Regions from separate parts of the Homo sapiens genome. Here all the other regions are linked to region 4. Evidence: promoter capture Hi-C in 16 types of primary human blood cells and fetal thymus (Javierre and others, 2016). All regions are on one chromosome and are shown on one strand. Each heading gives the region's core, a stretch centred on a gene start or on the middle of the fragment in contact. The rest is flanking DNA. Distances are from core to core; before and after follow the strand shown.

Region 1 (2,700 bases), core at 136-2,635, 1.7 Mb after region 4:
GATCTCACTTTGTTACCCAGGCTGGAGTGCAGTGGTGCAAACACAGCTCACTGTAGCCTTGACTTCCTGGGCTCAAGTGATCCACCTCAGTCACCTAAGTAGCTGGGACTGCAGGTGCGTGCCACCACACCTGGCTAATTTTTGTGTTTTTTGTAGAGATGAGGTTTCGCCACGTTGCCCAGGCTGGTCTCAAACTCCTGAGCTCAAGTGATCTGCCCACCTCAGCCTCCCAAAGTGTTGGGATTATAGGCTTGAGCCACCATGCCCGACCAAGCATGATTCTTTTTTTGTTTTATTTTCAGTAAAAATTCTTAAGCATGATTCTTTAAGCTTGATGCTCTACAGTGACCTAAAAAAATTTCTTCTGTGTAAAGGAACAGCATTAAAACAAAACAAAACAAAAACTAGAAATGGTTTACTTCTGGAAGAAGAAGGAAAAATCATGAAAAAGCTGTCTTATATTCAAACTTCTAGGTCAGAAACAATTGGATTAAGTGGAATAAATGAAAAACTTACATAGAAGAATACGTAAGTAAGTATTCCATCAAACTGGATCTATAATGTTTCAATATTATCCTAATCTCTGTCATATATCCTCTGTCAAACTAATACATACTCAAATTTCCTTGTCCACCAAACTCCCAGGCAAATGCCAAGCCCTACTTGGATTATTTAAACAAAATTAGGGAGTGGTTGCCAAAATAGTGTCTCACCTTAAAAGTTTCCAACAGGATATTAGCTCCGAGCTTACATGCATGCTGGTTTGGCATTCTAGAAAGACTTGGGCTGGTTTCAATAGTTTTTCCATCAAGAACCTTCTTTGGCCCATATGAATCCATCAAAATGAAACCAAGTTCTACGAGGCCCTGAGTAACATGGTCCCAGCTATGAACGCTACAAGAACACAAAGCTTAGTTAAAAAAGAAAAACTTAGTGAGATATTCTTACCTTTATACTCATTGCCCTGTTATACATTTCCCAAACTTGACCTAGATAATCAACGTACTCTGCATATAAACCTTTTCTTTACACACATCGTCTGACAGAATTCTGAATTCCTAAATGTACCATAATGGGAACAGCAGGCAAGTGGTCTCCAATGACACACAGAATACTGGGAAAATCCAGAAGCTAGAGAGTATTAAAAAAATTAAAGATTCCTATTCAAGATTTCATGATGAGAAGTTCATTGCTGCCTCTTCTATTACCCTACAGCACTGACAACGCTTATGTAGAGGCTTACAAATTAGCTCCCCTCCAAAGACAGAGATTCTCTAGGAGAGAGGTCATAGTATAGTCATATTTTTACCCACATTGCTTAGCACAAGGGTGGCATATAAAAGACACTCAGTAGATATTTATACTATAAATGGATGAGTGATCTGGTATCAACAGCATAAGCTAAAACTACAAATAATCTTTTGTAAAAGAGTAGAATCATTGGTGGTTTTATACCACTTAATGTTATACCCCACAGTGGAAATAATGTGAATATAACCTTTATCCATTATATCTACCTGTTAAATTGCAACAAATTATAATGCAGCACTACAGAATGAAGTAGACAGTTATGGATAAATTATAAGACTTTAACAGAGTTAACAATATTCATACTCTGAAGAGCCAAAAATTCAATTACATAAAATGGAGAATGCATTATTTAAAGGTTCATTAACTGACTGGGGCAAGCATGTGTAACTAACCAGCCAGTTATTTTAGAGGATCTAATAAGGCTATCCAAATCTCTCCCAGCTGAGGTTTGGTCCCACCCAGTGGCAAGTACCCACTCCAGGCTAATTATACATGGAGATGCTTTCAAGTCCTATGACAGTTGAGATTTCCAGAAGATGGGAAGCTTTCCAGGAATTTCCTGGTTAGTGAGTACCTCCTTCTTTAGCCCAACTTTAAGAGATTGGGTTGGGAAAATACTGGAGACACAAGTATAAACCTCAGGAAAAAGAATAATGAGATACAAAGATTAAAAAGCTTTAAGGCCTAACAATGGGTAAAACACTCAAACAATAAACTCTAATTTCAAATTTGCCCTACTGCAAAGCTCATGTAAATTCAATCTATTAATAAACAAGAATTCCAGGCCTAGAAGAGGCCTACCATAAATTATGCTTAAATTATGAAACTTTAAAATATATTTAATACACAGTGAAAGCATGACATAGTAAAGACTGTTACAACAGCTAATGTATATCCTGAAATTAAAATAAAAACCAGGACAGTTACTGATGTTTTCCATGTGGTTTTAAATGAATTTCTCTAAACTGGCTAATCAATAATTGAATTCCAACTGTACGCTCCAAATTTCAACAAAGTAAATAAAACTCTTAATGTTTTTTACTCACTTTAAAAAGAGGCCATGAGTCAGATGCAGTGGCATGCACCTATTATTGTCCCAGCTACTTGAGAGGCTGAGGCAGGAGGATCAGTTGAGCCCAGAAGATCAAGTCTAGCCTGGGCAACATAGTGAAAAGTTCCTACGTCTTCAGAAAAAAAAAAAAAAAAAAAAGAAGAAAGGCCAAGCCAGGCACAGGGCTACATGCCTATAGTCCCAGCTACTGAGGTGGGAGCATCACTTGAGGCCAGGAGTTTGAGGCTTTACCGTGCTATAATAGAGCCTGTGAATAGCCATTGCACTCCAGCCTGGGCAACATAGTGAGACTGTTTCCTTTAAAAAGGAAAAGAAAC
Region 2 (2,700 bases), core at 151-2,650, 2.0 Mb before region 4:
TATTATGAAAGACTTTATTGGGTTAATTGACAAAACTGAAATATGAATCAGACAAAAGTACATCAGCAGCCAGGTGCGGTGGCTCAAGCCTGCAATCCCAGCACTCTGGGAGGCCAAGACAGGCTGATAACGAGGTCAAGAGACTGAGACCATCCTGGCCAACATGGTGAAACCCCGTCTCTATTAAAAATAGAAAAAATTAGCTGGACGTGGTGGCGCACGCCTGTAGTCCCAGCTACTCGGGAGGCTAAGGCAGGAGAATTGCTTGAACCCCGGAGGCGGAGGCTGCAGTGAGCCGAGATTGCGCCACTGTACCCCAGCCTGGCGACAAAGCCAGACTGCGTCTCAAAAAAAAAAAAAAAAAAGTACGTCAGCAATGTTTTAAATCTAAGTTGAATCTGTACTGTACTGTGCTTATAAAAGAGAAAATCCTTATTTTTAAGAAATACACCTTACATATTTAAGGTAAAGGGATAAAAGGTAAAATTTTATGAATTTTAGTCTCAAATAGTTCATAAAAAACATTATGTTTGTATATATATAAATATACACAGGCTGGGTGCAGTGGCTCACGTATGCTAATCCCAACACTTTTGGAGAGCAAGGTGAGAGGATAACTTGAGGCCAGGAGTTTGAGAACAGCCAGGGCAACGTAGTGAGACCTCTATGTCTACAAAAATACAAAATCAGGCATGGTGGTGCACGCCTGTCGTCCCAGCTACTTGGGAGGCTGAGGTAGGAGGATCACTTGAGCTCAGGAGATTGAGGCTGCAGAGAGCCAAGGTTGCACCACTGCACTCTAGCCTAGGTGACAGAGCAAGACCCTCTCTCTTAAATAAACAGCACCCATAATAATAAAGCAAATGGAGGAAAAATGGTAATCTGGGTAAAGTATATAAGGTGTCCTTTGTACTGCACTTTTATTCTTGCAACTTTCCTAAAGTTTGGAATTAATTTTTTTAAACCAATTTTACAAAATGGTCCCTTTTTAAAAACTCTAAAATGTGTGAATAAAATCTGCAGGGTTTCAGAAAAGCATTTCTTTGTGCCAATATTTCAAACCTTTCACTCTCTGAGTGAGTCTGAATTCTGAAATGCATGTGACCACACATTAGGTTATGTTACACTTGCTCAGCTTGGATCACAGAAGGCTCCTAAAGTGCCTTGCAACTTGAGTGTCAGCAGCTACAAGACCTCCCCTAATTAATCTTTCAGGAATCTCAACTGGTGACTCAGGAGAAGAGCTCTCTGTAAATCCACAATACTCACCAGCTGGCCAGAGAATAGCAGAAACGAAGGCTAGCCCAGTGCCCAAACACAGGAACATGAGGGGAACTATCTCAGCCCAAGGCAGTTCCTATGAACAGCCCTAGGGTAGGGAAGCAATATGAAAAAGAAGACAGATCCCACTCTGCAAGGAACTAAGAGGTTCTACTCAGGAAAAGAAAGGTCCATATATGCTACTGAAGGTTGCCAACTTTGGGGAATTCTTAAGACTGATAAGTGGCGGGGCACAGTGGCTCACACCTGTAATCCTAGGAGACCGAGGCTGGAGGACTGCTTGAGCTCAGGAGGTTGAAACCAGCCTGAGAAACATAGTGAGACCCCATCTATACAATAAATTTTTAAAAACTTAGCTGGGCATGATAGCACATGCCTGTAGTCCCAGCTACTCGAGTGGCTTAGGTGGGTCAATTAAGTCCAGCAAGCCAAGGCTGCAGTGAGCTGAGATCAAGCCACTGCACTCCAGCCTGAGCAACAGAGTGAGACCCTGTCTCAAAACAAAACAAAACAAAAAGGCTGACAAGACTATGAGCCAGTAACCAGAGTAAGCGCAATGTATTATACAGTGACTGAAAAAAACGCTGGCTTCTGCACACACAAATAAGGCCATTAAAATAGGAAGTCAAGAATTCAAGCATAGCACCATTTAACTTGCAGTCAAGAGACCAAAGGAATGTAGCCAGATGGTGAAGTAATGATTACATGCATGGATTTCCCAGGGTGTAATCAAGGTGGACATTTCAGGAAAGATACTCAAAAGGCCATTAGACCAGTAAGCAGATAATAGTCTCCCAAGCAGACCAGGAGACTGGGGCAGAACAAAAGCCTTCTAAGATGCCAAGTGCAGGTTTGCTTACAGTTACTATTTCTCCAAAACACAAATGAAAACTGAATGCGCTCTAGCAGGGCAAAATTAAGTACTTTTCTGTAAGGCTCTGTAATACCCTACATTTATTTAATGTCACAAAATCTTAGCATAGTTTCTAATAATCCTGTTGGGTAGATGGTATTATTTTTTTTTTTGGAGATGAGGAAATGGGTTTTAAAATCTCAAATGACTTGCCTTAGGCCACTTACTAAAGAGTAATAATATTTTACAACAGAGCATATGTACCTAGAGCTCTTAATAGAAGCCATGGACAACTGTTTAACATGAGAACCCCTGAACTGGTATACAAAGTTTTGAATATCTACATTTTTGAGAGAAGCTATAGAATTCAGATTGTCAACGGGATCCACACCCTCTCCAAAAAATGACTTTAAAAATTATTTCTCAAAAAAAATCAAATAATTTCATATCATATAAATCGAACTTTTTAAATTAAAAAATCAACATATAAATCTATGTTATAAAGAAACTCCACATTAAGTCCACAAATTAAATTTTTCTGGCTTATGAACTGCAACATTAAAATT
Region 3 (2,700 bases), core at 1-2,500, 2.0 Mb before region 4:
AATTGCACTCATATTTTTCTACCTACTTGCACCAGGAATGAGCTAGCCAGTTTAGACCTTCTAGCTGATAATCTCGAAGTTCCAGATTCTCCCCTCCTAAATATGCAGGTTGTTTCTTTAAAGCTACAAATCGTGGTCTCTGCTTCAGGGCCTGAAAAACAAAAGCCCAAGTCTGAGAAAATGTTCTTACTGCTACTATGTTAAAACGCTAGCCACAATTCACATATTCGGCATCAAAGCATAAAAACTCAAATTTCTTTTTTTGAGACGGAGTCTTGCTCTGTCACCCAGGCTGGAGTGCAGTGGCCCAATCTCGGCTCACTGCAAGCTCTGCCTCCCGGGTTCACGCCATTCTCCTGCCTCAGCCTCCCAAGTAGCTGGGACTACATACAGGCGCCCGCCACCACCCACGCCTGGCTATTTTTGTATTTTTAGTAGAGATGGGGTTTCACCATGCTAGCCAGGATGGTCTCGATCTCCTGACCTCGTGATCTGCCCACCTCGGCCTCCCAGAGTGCTGGGATTACAGGCGTGAGCCACCGCGCCTGGCCAAAAACTTAAATTTCATGTGTGTGAATCACCACCTCACTCCATCACCCCTTTCTTCATGGTTAATATTCCATAAGCCAGAGTTAGTTCATCCTCAAATAAAATATTTTTAGTTAACTTGCCCCTTTCCTGAAATAAATCTATGAACATCATTAAATAGCACTTTAGGTCTTGTCTATTATATGGCAGTCAGAGTCTCCTATTTTTCAGAAACAACTATCTTTCTGTTATCTGATTCTAAAGAGTACAAAACATTGCCTCCAGCTGTCATATGCTAAATACAGTTGATCTTCACCATAACAGGATTTGTAAATTCAGAAATGCCGCCCATCTACCTTAAACCCTTTAATTGCGTGAATTTGGTTTTCCCTTCAGAAACAAGCTTCTGAAGGGAAGGTTGTTTTCACCCCCAGAAGCTTAAAGGATAGCATTCTAGTGAGGTCAGTCTCTATGGTTTGCATAAAATGTGGATTCTGTGGCCAAATCAGTTTAGGAAACAACCGATCAAAAAGTTATACAATTTCTTTACTCATGACTTTTCAAAGTCTGAAATGTGTGTCCATAGCGTGAATTTACAGGAGAAATTCATTCAGGGATGTATCTCAAAGTTACATGGCCAAAAAGTCTTTTTTCAGGGGACTTTTCTCTGAAGATTAGTGCTCTATAGCACACATTATGAGAAGTATCATTCTAATAAGAATATTTGATAAGGTTATTGATGTGTTCAGTTCTCTATGAGGGCGGCTGGCAGTGAATGGAATCCGACTGCTTACTCTCAACTCCAAAACCCAGCCATCCATCCACTCCTACCAAACCTACCCCATAACTGTTCTCCCATCCACTCCTTCCACGCCACTGTTACTTCCCTTGTCCTCACACTACTTCTTCATTCGTGGACTTCAATGACATCTTACTGGCTGGACCTTCTGGCTTTAATAATTACTTACTCCAGAGTCTCCTATATACTGCTATTACATGAAGCTTTCTAAATAAAACTATTTCATAATGCCACTGTACTCAGCTGTACGAATACCTAGGAGATAAAGTCAAAATACCCTTCGAGGTAGCCAAGACACACACACTTTGACCTTGATGTACTTGTCAACATCATTCCTCTTCTCCTCACCCCTGGGGTCTAGTAGTTCTCCTATTGAACTATAAGAATCTTTCTCTTGATACCTTTCACAGGAGGGCAATACCCTGGGCCCCCTCTTGTCTGTATAGCCAGCAGCACCAATCCATTATACAAGGGCCAGATGCAGTTCAACAACCACAACTTCCTCTTAAAACCCATTCAATGACCACTGGAGCTCAGAGACTTCTACATTGGTGCTTCTCTGACCACATTTTCCCTATCACACTCTTTGGCAATTAAATACTGGTTTTCACAGATAGAATTCTAGTGCCATTAACATGAATGTCAACTTCTCAGAGACGTATCACTTGTCTGATATTTCATTACTGAGGACCCAAGCACATCAGTTTCCTGATGGAATAAATTCCAAGGAAAGGATTTATTCAGCCAATCTAGCAAATAAGCCTATATATTTAATTTCTAACTTAGAATTCAAAGACACTCGCCTTTTCTATCACTTCCCGCTCTCTATTTTTTTTTTTTTTTAGAGAACGGGTATCACAATCTTCCCCAGGTTGGCCTCAAACTCCTGTGCTCAAGCAATCCTGCCGCCTCAGCCTCCCAAGTAGCTGGAACCACAGGTGTGAGCCACTGCAACTGGCTTCACTTCTCTTTTAAAGTGCCTAAATGCAACTGGGCATGGTGGCTCACGCCTGTAATCCCAGCACTTTGGGAGGCCAAGGTGGGTGGATCATTTGAGGTCAGGAGTTTGAGACCAGCCTGACCAACATGGTGAAACCCCATCTCTGCTAAAAATACAAAAAATTAGCTGGAAGTGGTGGTGCGTGCCTGTAATCCCAGCTGCTCAGGAGGCTGAGGCAGGAGAATCACTTAAACCCAGGAGGCAGAGGTTGCAGTTAGCCAAGATAGTGCCAGTGCACTCCAGCCTGGGCGACACAGCGAAACTCTGTCTCAAAATAAAATAATAAAATAAAATAAAATAAAAGTGCCTAAATCCTTTCAAGTATTCTCTCAAATATCTCTATTTCTAATTATGTAAATTGCAAGATTAAACA
Region 4 (2,700 bases), core at 135-2,634:
CTAGACAGAACAGCCTACACACCTAAACTATATGGTATGGCGTTTTCCTCCTAGGCTACAAACCTGGGCAGCATGTTACAGAAAGAATACTGTAGGCAATTGTGGGTTTTTTTGATTCAGGCTATTCCTGGGATACTGTAGGCAATTGTAACGCAATGGTAAGTATTTGTGTATCTAAACATAGAAAAGGTACAGTAAAAATATGGTATAATCTTATGGGACCACCATAGTGTATGTGGCCTGTCGTTAACTGAAACATCATTATGCAGTGCATGACTGTATGAAGGATTTCTCTTCTGTGAGGTGTAACAGAATGGACTGGCTGAGGAAAAAGGGGTCACGGGCATGCGTGCACATGCACTCTGTCTGTGACTAATAGAATGGTGCTCAGAGTTCCTCACCTTTTACTCCTAACGCAGCCTATTGCAGGCTAGGGATCTCAGAGAAACTACCTTCAAGGGACCTTTTGCTGACACTTAACCAAACTTAGAAGGGTGGGCCATGTGTAAGAGAGGCAGTATGGCCACTGATGTTATTTATTTTTCAACAGCGAGAACTTTCAAAGGCTTCCAAATCTGATGCTACTTCTGGAATCCTCAATTCAACCAACATCCAGTCCTGAGAAGCCCTGATCAGTCAACCAGCTGTGGCTTCCTGTGCCTAGACTGGACCTAATTATATGGGGGTGACTTTAGTTTTTCTTCAGCTTAGGCGTGCTTGAAACCTTGGCCAGGTTCCATGACCATGGGCCTAACTTAAAGATGTGAATGAGTGTTACAGTTGAAAGCCCATCATAGGTTTAGTGGTCCTAGGAGACTTGGTTTTGACTTATATACATGAAAAGTTTATGGCAAGAAGTGCAAATTTTAGCATATGGGGCCTGACTTCTCTACCACATAATTCTACTTGCTGAAGCATGATCAAAGCTTGTTTTATTTCACCACTGTAGGAAAATGATTGACTATGCCCATCCCTGGGGGTAATTTTGGCATGTATACCTGTAACTAGTAATTAACATCTTTTTTGTTTAGGCATGTTCAATTAATGCTGTAGCTATCATAGCTTTGCTCTTACCTGAAGCCTTGTCCCCACCACACAGGACAGCCTTCCTCCTGAAGAGAATGTCTTTGTGTGTCCGAAGTTGAGATGGCCTGCCCTACTGCCAAAGAGGTGACAGGAAGGCTGGGAGCAGCTTTGTTAAATTGTGTTCAGTTCTGTTACACAGTGCATTGCCCTTTGTTGGGGGTATGCATGTATGAACACACATGCTTGTCGGAACGCTTTCTCGGCGTTTGTCCCTTGGCTCTCATCTCCCCCATTCCTGTGCCTACTTTGCCTGAGTTCTTCTACCCCCGCAGTTGCCAGCCACATTGGGAGTCTGTTTGTTCCAATGGGTTGAGCTGTCTTTGTCGTGGAGATCTGGAACTTTGCACATGTCACTACTGGGGAGGTGTTCCTGCTCTAGCTTCCACGATGAGGCGCCCTCTTTACCTATCCTCTCAATCACTACTCTTCTTGAAGCACTATTATTTATTCTTCCGCTGTCTGCCTGCAGCAGTACTACTGTCAACATAGTGTAAATGGTTCTCAAAAGCTTACCAGTGTGGACTTGGTGTTAGCCACGCTGTTTACTCATACAGTACGTGTCCTGTTTTTAAAATATACAATTATTCTTAAAAATAAATTAAAATCTGTATACTTACATTTCAAAAAGATATAGTGTGGTGTTTCCTTTTTTTCCCCAGTCACTTTTTAGTTGGTTGGTCTGTGTGTGAAAAACAAACACAAAAAACTAAAAGGACCTCCTGGAAATTTTTAGTCAGGAGTGTGATTTTTTTTTTTGAGTCTCACTCTGTCGCCCAGGCTGGAGTACAGTGGCACTATCTTGGTTCAGTGCAACTTCCACCTCCCAGGTTCAAGCGATTCTCCTGCCTCAGCCTCCCGATTTGCTGGGATTACAGGCACGCACCATCACACCTGGCTAATTTTTGTATTTTTAGTAGAGACAGGCTTTCACCATGTTGGCCAGGCTGGTCTTGAACTCCTGACCTCAGATGATCTGCCTGCCTCCCAAAGTGCTGGGATGACAGGCATGAGCCACAGCACCCGGCCGAGTGTGATTTTTAAAATATTCTCTGGTACATTTCTAAATTAAGAATATCTCTTACTCTAATTTTTTGGTGAGAAATATAAAACCTAACCCCTGATGTGTAGAGAGCAAAGGGAGTCCTAGGATGCTTCTGGCTTCAATGCCGTTTGTCTCAATATGGGGAGGCTGCCCAACTTCAACAGCGTTACTGAAGGAGGATGGACATAAACTGCACACATGTGAAGCGTAAGAGAAAAACCATCGCCACAGTCCAGTTAACCAAGTCTCTCTACCCCAGCAGTTCTTCCCACCCCTTTCTCACTCCTCCTTCCCAGCCTCACCCTGCCGAGCAACCACTGATTTTTTTTTTTTTTTTTTTTTTTTTTTTTGAGATGGAGTCTCGCTCTTGCCAGGCTGGAGTGCAGTGGCACAATCTCAGCTCACTGCAATCTCTGCCTCCCAGGTTCAAGGGATTCTCCTGCCTCAGCCTCCCGCGTAGCTGGGACTGCAGGCACGTGCCATCACGCCTGGTAAATTTTTGTATTTTTGGTACAGACAGACAGGGTTTCACTGTATTAGCTAGGATGGTCTCGATCTCCTGACCTCATGAT
Region 5 (2,700 bases), core at 1-2,500, 1.9 Mb before region 4:
ACACCAAACAAAATCAACAATGTCCAATCTAGGTAAAATCCATAATCCAAACTGTTTCAATTCCATACTCTACACACAAAGATAAATTTCGTAGCAAGAACAATATCCAAAATTCCATTTTTGAATTTAACAAAGACCAACCACCTCACATCAGTCAATAACAAATGGTGCTCGTGTATTAACCATGGATGTGTATGCTGCAGTATTTGACATGAATCACAAACAGTATGATTAACACAAAACAATTTAACCTGAACTATTTATTCTTCTCATGTAAAATGGGAAAACAGAATCAAGAACTCATTTTGTCTACCAAAATAATGCCTACCACCTTTGTAATAGTTACCAAAACTGGTATCAGTTGATTAGTAATAAATGAAAACCTGGCATTTAAAAATCAAACGTAAGTAATCTATGGCAGGGTGCAATTCATTTATTCTAAATCCCCAATTGTACAAAATAAAGACGATACAAGATATTAATCCTACTTCAAAGTTATATAAAATGGATTACACACATAATTTCAAATTTAAAAAATTGTGAATACTCCAAGGACCCTAACCCATAAATCCAACACTTCTTCCTCTAATAGTAAGACAATAGGAGACATTAATTTAAATATTCAGATGAATATTCTATAGCAAGATGTATTTATAGTATTAAAAAGCTTAAGAAACCATTTCAATCAACACAAAATAATTCAGAAGTATATGTGTATCACTCATCCTGAATTTTCGAGCAACAAGCAGTTTGTTTCAAGTTCATTAAAATCTTGTGGCAGATTAAAATCAGATTCTATTATTACCCATTGAGTTGTTTTGAAAGGTGTTTCATGAAAGCACAAACAAAACAGTATTTAAACCAAATGACCATCTAAGAGCACAACTTTGTGAAAAACGTAAATCTTCATAAACCAAGTAAAATGTTTTCGATTACACCATTTCCAATTTACCAGCTTTATTCATATTCAGTACACTTTACCACTCGGCAACTACAAAGGCCAAAGTATTACTAAAATAAAACTAAACATTTAATTAAACTTCCACTTAAAAAAAAAAACCCAAACTGAGAAATTTTTAAGTGTTACAAATTTTATTAAAAATTAACATTTCAAGAGGTCATACGCATACAAATCAAACTGCAAAAAATTCCAGGCATAAAAACTATTATCTGGGTTAGTGTGCCATCTTTCTTCTCCAAATGTCAAAATGTCCACAAAAAAAGTCTTTAGAAAGTCAAATCCACTGTCCATTTGTGTTGGGTAAGAAACCTATGTCTTCATTCACTGCATGGAATCCATGTTAAAAGAACCCTGTCTTGGTTGTATATTATCACAGGACTCTTGTATTAATCCATTTTTCCTCAATTCCCCATAGTAGACTGCCATCTTGATTTCTCAGTGGTAGGGTCCATTTGAAACTCTTCAAGCTGACTGGGTGCTTGATGAAAAAATTAAAAGAAAAAAACGCTGTTGGCATCTTAATCTTTTAAACAGAAAACATCCACCCACCTTGAAGATATCCTACCATACACAAAACTTTCATTTTGTAACAGCTTTCAACTATGAAATTGTAAAGTTGTATGCAAAACACACACACAACTCCTTGATAAGACTGCACGCCAAAGTAACAAAGTCCTTGTACTACCACAGATACATTTGTATCTATAAAAAAGTCCCAGTGAAGAGTCAGATTTTTAATATTTAACACTAACATCATTATACTGTGTACATAAAAAGTAAAAACAAAAATTAAAATTCAAAATTCCTGGAAAGCTAAATTACAGAAACACTGTGGATTCTAAATCTCAATGCAGAAAACTTTCCAAGCTTCTTCAAAGAAAACTAATTATAGAAAAGAATCTTAAGGGATTTGAAAAAAAAAAAAAACATACACACATAAAGCAGTCGATCATAGCATAGTTTTTCAATCCAACAGATGTTGGTTTTGTTTAGATAACGAAAATGGCCACTATAGGTGGCACCATCTTTAACGACATATCTGAGAATACAGAAAAGATGTAGCCACCAAAAAAAAAAAAAAAAAAAAAAGATCAAAAATGCAAAGTATCTGCCTGGCTTGATAGATTTGCCATAAAATGCTGTTTTCAAATTATATGCAACTAAAATAATACACTTTCATTACCAAAATACCAAATGTCTCTCATAGAAAAACAAATCCATTACTTAAATAATTTTAACTGAAGGGAGAAGTGAGAAGTGAGAAGTCAGATGATTTTATCATTAAATAAATGATTCAGATTCATCATGACCAAACATAATTTGAAAAAACAAGATTTAAACCCTGGTCTTCTCTATAAATTTTCCAGCTCTCCATCTGAATTTGTGGAGATACAGTCAAGTGTGACTGAATTTGAGGTAAATAAATATAAGGGCATTTTTGCCCATTAGGTAATTCCTTGTCTCCTTGGCAACAATTAGGATACTGTTTACTATATACAATACAAAAATCTACTTACTTAACTATTTGGTTAACTGAGATACTGCCACCCATATTAAAAAACATTGATTAAAGGGAGTGTCACAGCATCAGTAATAAATATCAAAAGCAAGATATTTCTCCTTGATTTTGCTCATTTCTCCCCAGCTTTAAAAAGAAAACTAAATTACTCAATTCATTCCTGATCTCAGTAAAAATCTTCCATCTGACTTGTTCATTCCTTAAAATTAAGGGACATGTA
Region 6 (2,700 bases), core at 105-2,604, 1.7 Mb after region 4:
ATATGCGTACATGTGCCATGTTGGTGTGCTGCACCCATTAACTCGTCATTTACATTAGGTGTATCTCCTAATGCTATCCCTCCCCCCTCCCCTCACTCCACAACAGGCCCCGGTGTGTGATGTTCCCATTCCCGTGTCCAAGTGTTCTCACTGTTCAATTCCCACCTATGAGTGAGAACATGTGGGGTTTGGTTTTTTTGTCCTTGCGATAGTTTGCTGAGAATGATGGCTTCCAGCTTCATCCATGTCCCTACAAAGGACATGAACTCATCATTTTTTATGGCTGCATAGTATTCCATGGTGTAGATGTGCCACATTTTCTTAATCCAGTCTATCATTGTTGGACACTTGGGTTGGTTCCAAGTCTTTGCTATTGTGAATAGTGCCGCAATAAACATACGTGTGAATGTGTCTTTATAGCAGCATGATTTACAGTCCTTTGGGTATATACCCAGTAATGGGATCACTGGGTCAAATGGTATTTCTAGTTCTAGATCCCTGAGAAATCGCCACACTGTCTTCCACAATGGTTGAATAGAAGGTATTTTAATTTCCAAGTAAAAGTGTCTTTGCTTTTTGACTTTTAGTTTCGGTTTTCATTTCCAGTTTTATTGCATTGTGATCACAGAGAATAGTTTGTAATAATTCTACCTTATGGGACCTACCCATGTTTTCTTTGTGCTCTAGTATATGACATGTGATTAATTTTTATGAACATTCTATGTGTTTAAGAAGATAATATATTCTTATCAAAGTTCTCTGCATATATTTTAAATATTCTTTATATTTTCCACCTCTTTACAATCTGTGCTTTATTTAGTTATCCTCAGCTCTGTATTCCACTTTACTAATTTTCTCTTTAGCAATGTTTTGTCTACTGTTAAACCACCTACTGAGGTTTTCATTTCAAGAAGTTGTCTTTCATTGTTTTCTAAATCCATCCCTTATTTTGTGAGTTCTATTCCTTCATTTACATCTTCAAATATTTTAAATACTAGGTCAGGCAGAGTGGCTCACACGTGTAATCCCGGCACTGTGGGAGGCTGAGGTGGGTGGATTGCTTGAGCTCAGGAGTTCAAGACCAGCCTGGAAAGCATGGCGAAACCCCATCTCTGCTAAAAATACAAAAATTAGTCGGACATGGTGGCACATGCTTGTACTCCCAGCTACTCAGGAGGCTGAGGTGGGAGGATCGCATGAGCCCAGGAGGTTGAGGCTGCAGTGTGCCGAGATCGCCCCACTGCACTCCAGCCTGTGCAAGGGTGAGATCCCACCTTTAAATAAATAAAGTTAAATACTGTATTAAGTATTTGTGTTAAATAATTAAAGATTTTTTTCAGATTGCTCTAAATCCTTGAATATGAATTTTCCCATTTCTGTTTGAGTCTTTCTTGCCACAGGACTTCTTTATGTGTTTTATAATTTTTTACTCTGAGTTCATCTTCTGTGGGACATTTTATCAAATGAACTGCCTGCATATATTACTGACATGCTTAACAAATTTGTAGAGGATAAAAAGCTGATTAATACGGTCAGCAGAATCATACAAAATGATCTTGATGGAGTAAAACAAGATGAATCTAAAAAAGGTGACAGTTAACAGATATAAAGTTTGTTGTTTTGGTAGTTGTTTTTAGAAACTGGGTCTCACTATGTTGCCTAAGCTGATCTCGAACTCCTGGCCTAAAGGAATCCTCCCAAAGTGCTGGGACTACAGGTGTAAGTCACCATGCCTGGCCTATATATAGTTTTTAACATGGATTCTAAAAGGACTTCAGAGATAAAGGAAACTTAGCAACTTATCAACATATACAAAAATAAATATAAGAGCAATGAGACTACAATATAATGTTGCTGCCAAAAAGCTGATTTTGCATTAATGGAAAAATGAGGGAAATATTAGCATTACTCTATCCTAGAGTCAGAAAACATCTGGAACACTGTCTTCAATTTGACAGTGTTCACGCCTTCAATTTGAGGCATGAAACTTTAAATAAATAATTTAAATGCTAGTTTCAATCAAATCTTGTCTATAGAATGATTCAAGTTACAACTCATGCAACAAGTCATCTCAAAAAATAGCTATAAAGGCAATCTTGGATAATTTCAAAGAAAAAAAAATCAAAGAGCAACACTGCATCAATTCCTAGTTAGTATGTCAGATAACACACACTAAGATGCACCTTCCTTCAATAACTACAACATTAACACAAAGAAATTCCCTTAAAAACATAATACTCATCAATTGACAGAAAAAGGAAAAAAATCCCATGATACTCAATGTCTTTACTTGTTTGTACATATACCTTGAAGAGGGATTCTTTTCCAGGCAGGGACCTGGATAGGATGAGATCACTTATGGAAAAAGGAGCAGTATATCAGCTGAGAAAGAACATTAGGGAGAAGAAACAGCCTAACATATAAGGCAATTACTATCCCATTTTATAATCCTACACTTATAGTGAAAACAGAGGCCCTAATTTTTACTAATAATTTCAAAATATTTTGCCGCTTATAAACTTAATTTCTTTACGGAAAAATACAGAGAAGCATCAAAATGCAAAACTAATGTCTCAATCAGTAACTATAGTCTGGATATTATCATCAAATAGGATTGTTCTGAGGACCATAAAAGTATACTAATTGCTTTTATAAATACAGTTGTAAAAGCATTCTATTCTTAAACTATTTCAGGTTTAA
Region 7 (2,700 bases), core at 9-2,508, 1.7 Mb after region 4:
TCTGGTGCTTCGTGAATAAAACATGTTTTTGGTTCAGAGGAAAAATAAGATGCTCCATCTGATCATAAAATCCCTGAGTTGAGAAGCAGCCATGTATATAATACACACAATTTTTTCTAACAGCTTGATAGAGCTGTAATTCATATACCATACAATTCACTCACAATGTACTTTTTTTTCAGTATTTGCAGAGTTGTGCAACCATCATCACAGTCAATTCTAAAACATTTTCATCACCCCCAAAAGAAATTCCATACCGTTTTTAGCTGTCACCCCAGTCTCCCCATCTTCCAACCCACCTAGCTCTACGCTACCACTAATCTAGTTTGCCTTTTTAGATGATTTATTCTGGGCACTTCATGAAAATGGAATCATACAACACGTGGTCTTTTTGTCACTGGCTTCTTCCGCTTCATGTTTTCGGGTTCACCAACAAGCATATTTTAACGGTCAGTGTCAGCAGCTTACCATGGCTGTGGCAACGGCAGCAGGTTTCTCCTTTTTCTCTCCCGTATAGTTCAGGCTCTTACTCTTATTCTAAAGAAATAGAAACACATTCTCTTATTCCTGATGATTTTTCTGTGGAGCTAGCATGCTAGTGCTAATTTTTTTTTTTTTTTTTTTAAGACAGAGCTTTGCTGTCACCCAGGCTGGTGTGCAGTGGCGTGATGTCGACCCACTGTAACCTCTGCGCCCCGAGTTAAGTGATTCTTGTGCCTCAGCCTCCCGAGTAGCTGGGACTACAGGCACGTGCCACCACACTCAGCTAATTTTTGTATTTTTAGTAGAGACGGTGTTTTGCCATGTTGGCCAGGCTGGTCTCGAACTCCTGGCCTCAGGTGATCTGCCGGCCTCAGCCTCCCAAAGTGCTGGGATTACAGGCCTAAGCCACCATGCCCACCAACTAGTGGCAATTTTCTTAGAAGGTAATTACACAGGGTATGAGGACCAAGTCTGGAGTAAACAGGACTATCTGTGCAACAGATGTTAGAAGATAGGGAAAAAATGGATGCTTTGTAATCCTCAGATATTTTTTCTTTTTTAGTTGTTGAGAGGTTTACAATCTGTTGTTCTTAGAGCTGGCACATGGAAGTTGAAGGCAGGACTATTACTGCAGTGGGTCAGCCAAGGGGCTGGTGAGGTACTAAAGAATGGTTAAAATGGGGACTGTCAAGGTGGTAGCAGGAATATTCATTTCTATTTCTATTTTAGCCAGTGGGCTAGAAGGATCCCATAAAGGAGAGGAAGCTGAGGAGGCTGCTGCAGGGCCCTGCAGTCTTCCCACTTACAGGCAATCACCAGATATATTTTATTTTCGTTACTCAGCAAAGCCAAAACCAGATATATTTTATGTGCAATGGGTTATCATGCTCAAGAAGGGTTAAAAGGGTCACAGAACACTTCCCTGTGTTGTAAATTATTGGGTAATAAAGAGCTCCTGGAGAGGGATGAATAACTAATAAAAGGAACCAAAAAGTGTAAGATTCTGATAAAGCAAAAGAAAATCAAGACTTGAGTCAGGAGAGACTGGGGAGAAAAACCACCCAAATGTAAGGTACGGTACAGAAATGTAGGCAGCTTTTTACCTCAAGGGGAGTTCTAAACCTTCTTAGGAAGGGAACATACCATGCTCCACGAGGGCAACAGAATAAAGAAACAGACCTGAAAATACAGAGAGGCTCTGCAACTGGAGCCATGAGAGAAACAGGAGACTTGTTCCACATGCCACGTTCTGGAAAATAAGGAACTGCAGACATTCCAGAGGGGCTGGTATGCAGTAATCTGTTTTTGGCCCTGGAAGGCAGGGTAGAGCATGGAAGAGGGTGAAGGCAGCAGAAGAGGGCAAGGAAGCAGTCACGGATCGACCTCACTGACCAAGTGGGAAGTGAACCATCTTCCCAGAGGTTGTGTCCAAGATGGGGCCCTGTTGGAACTCCTTAGATCAACCCTGTTCCCTGCCCATTCCAACTGATCCGGGCGGGCAGGACTAAAATTAGAGCCAGAAGAGAAGCATCTTTTTTTGAGGTGGAGTTTCACTCTGTCGCCCAGGCTGGAGTACAATGGTGCGATCTCAGCTCACTGCAACCTCTGCCTCCCAGGTTCAAGCGATTCTCCTGCCTCAGCTTCCCGAGTAGCTGGGATTACAGGCACGCACTACCATGCCCGGCTAATTTTTTTTTTTGAGACAGAGTCATGCTCTGTTGCCCAGGCTGGAGTGCAGTGGTGTGATCTCATCTCACTGCAACCTCCACCTCCCGGGTTCAAGCAATTCTCCTGCCTCAGCCTCCCGAGTAGCTGGGATTACAGGCGCCTGCCACCATGCCCAGCTAATTTTTGTATTTTTTTTAGTAGAAATGGGGTTTCACCATGTTGGCCGGGCTAGTTTCGAACTCCTGACCTTGTGATCCGCCTGCCTCAGCCTCCCAAAATGCTGAGATTACAGGTGTGAGCCACCGTGCCCTGCTATTTTTTGTATCTTTAGTTGAGACGGGATTTCACCATGTTGGCCAGGCTGGTCTCAAACTCCAGACCTTGTGATTCTCCCACCTCGGCCTCCCAAAGTGCTGGGATTACAGGCATGAGCCACCATGTCCGACCCTTGAGAAGCATCTTTTAAAGGTATACAGTTCTGGGCAGGATGCTAAGAGTTGCAGCAATGGTTTTCGTTGCTTTCTTCCCATTGAGATCTAAGGAACTGGG

The links. The method cuts DNA at HindIII sites, captures the fragments that hold promoters and counts their contacts. A CHiCAGO score of 5 or more calls a contact.
Region 1: a contact is called between a fragment that was not itself captured here and the fragment with the promoter of PRC1-AS1 in region 4, in 1 of 17 cell types (erythroblasts). The highest score is 8.4, in erythroblasts.
Region 2: a contact is called between a fragment that was not itself captured here and the fragment with the promoter of PRC1-AS1 in region 4, in 1 of 17 cell types (erythroblasts). The highest score is 5.1, in erythroblasts.
Region 3: a fragment that was not itself captured here is called in contact with the fragment with the promoter of PRC1-AS1 in region 4 in 1 of 17 cell types (erythroblasts); the score reaches 6.2 in erythroblasts.
Region 5: a fragment that was not itself captured here is called in contact with the fragment with the promoter of PRC1-AS1 in region 4 in 1 of 17 cell types (erythroblasts); the score reaches 5.0 in erythroblasts.
Region 6: a fragment that was not itself captured here is called in contact with the fragment with the promoter of PRC1-AS1 in region 4 in 1 of 17 cell types (erythroblasts); the score reaches 5.4 in erythroblasts.
Region 7: a fragment that was not itself captured here is called in contact with the fragment with the promoter of PRC1-AS1 in region 4 in 1 of 17 cell types (erythroblasts); the score reaches 6.2 in erythroblasts.

The regions. Positions count from the first base shown.
Region 1 is chr15:89,274,905-89,277,604 of GRCh38, reverse strand. It overlaps FANCI (FA complementation group I), which reads right to left. Exons shown (of 38, transcript NM_001113378.2): 13 at 714-894. Among named protein-coding and RNA genes, the nearest start is that of FANCI, 32 kb to the right of the region's middle. The HindIII fragment of the contact is 945 bases long and covers 913-1,857 here.
Region 2 is chr15:92,929,529-92,932,228 of GRCh38, reverse strand. All of the region lies in intron 5 of CHD2 (chromodomain helicase DNA binding protein 2), which reads right to left. Among named protein-coding and RNA genes, the nearest start is that of MIR3175, 26 kb to the right of the region's middle. The HindIII fragment of the contact is 4,783 bases long and covers 1-2,700 here.
Region 3 is chr15:92,946,403-92,949,102 of GRCh38, reverse strand. CHD2 (chromodomain helicase DNA binding protein 2) reads right to left here. Exons shown (of 39, transcript NM_001271.4): 13 at 27-151. Among named protein-coding and RNA genes, the nearest start is that of MIR3175, 43 kb to the right of the region's middle. The HindIII fragment of the contact is 565 bases long and covers 968-1,532 here.
Region 4 is chr15:90,965,053-90,967,752 of GRCh38, reverse strand. It overlaps PRC1-AS1 (PRC1 antisense RNA 1), which reads right to left and starts at 1,384. Exons shown (of 4, transcript NR_051984.1): 1 at 1,075-1,384. It overlaps PRC1 (protein regulator of cytokinesis 1), which reads left to right. Exons shown (of 15, transcript NM_003981.4): 15 at 551-1,713. The coding sequence ends at 622. The HindIII fragment of the contact is 668 bases long and covers 929-1,596 here.
Region 5 is chr15:92,896,463-92,899,162 of GRCh38, reverse strand. It overlaps CHASERR (CHD2 adjacent suppressive regulatory RNA), which reads right to left. Exons shown (of 6, transcript NR_037601.1): 6 at 416-1,439. Among named protein-coding and RNA genes, the nearest start is that of CHD2, 2.5 kb to the left of the region's middle. The HindIII fragment of the contact is 1,161 bases long and covers 670-1,830 here.
Region 6 is chr15:89,247,945-89,250,644 of GRCh38, reverse strand. The region is part of intron 2 of FANCI (FA complementation group I); the gene reads right to left. Among named protein-coding and RNA genes, the nearest start is that of FANCI, 5.3 kb to the right of the region's middle. The HindIII fragment of the contact is 3,959 bases long and covers 1-2,700 here.
Region 7 is chr15:89,310,741-89,313,440 of GRCh38, reverse strand. It overlaps FANCI (FA complementation group I), which reads right to left. Exons shown (of 38, transcript NM_001113378.2): 35 at 469-537. Among named protein-coding and RNA genes, the nearest start is that of MIR6766, 15 kb to the left of the region's middle. The HindIII fragment of the contact is 9,693 bases long and covers 1-2,700 here.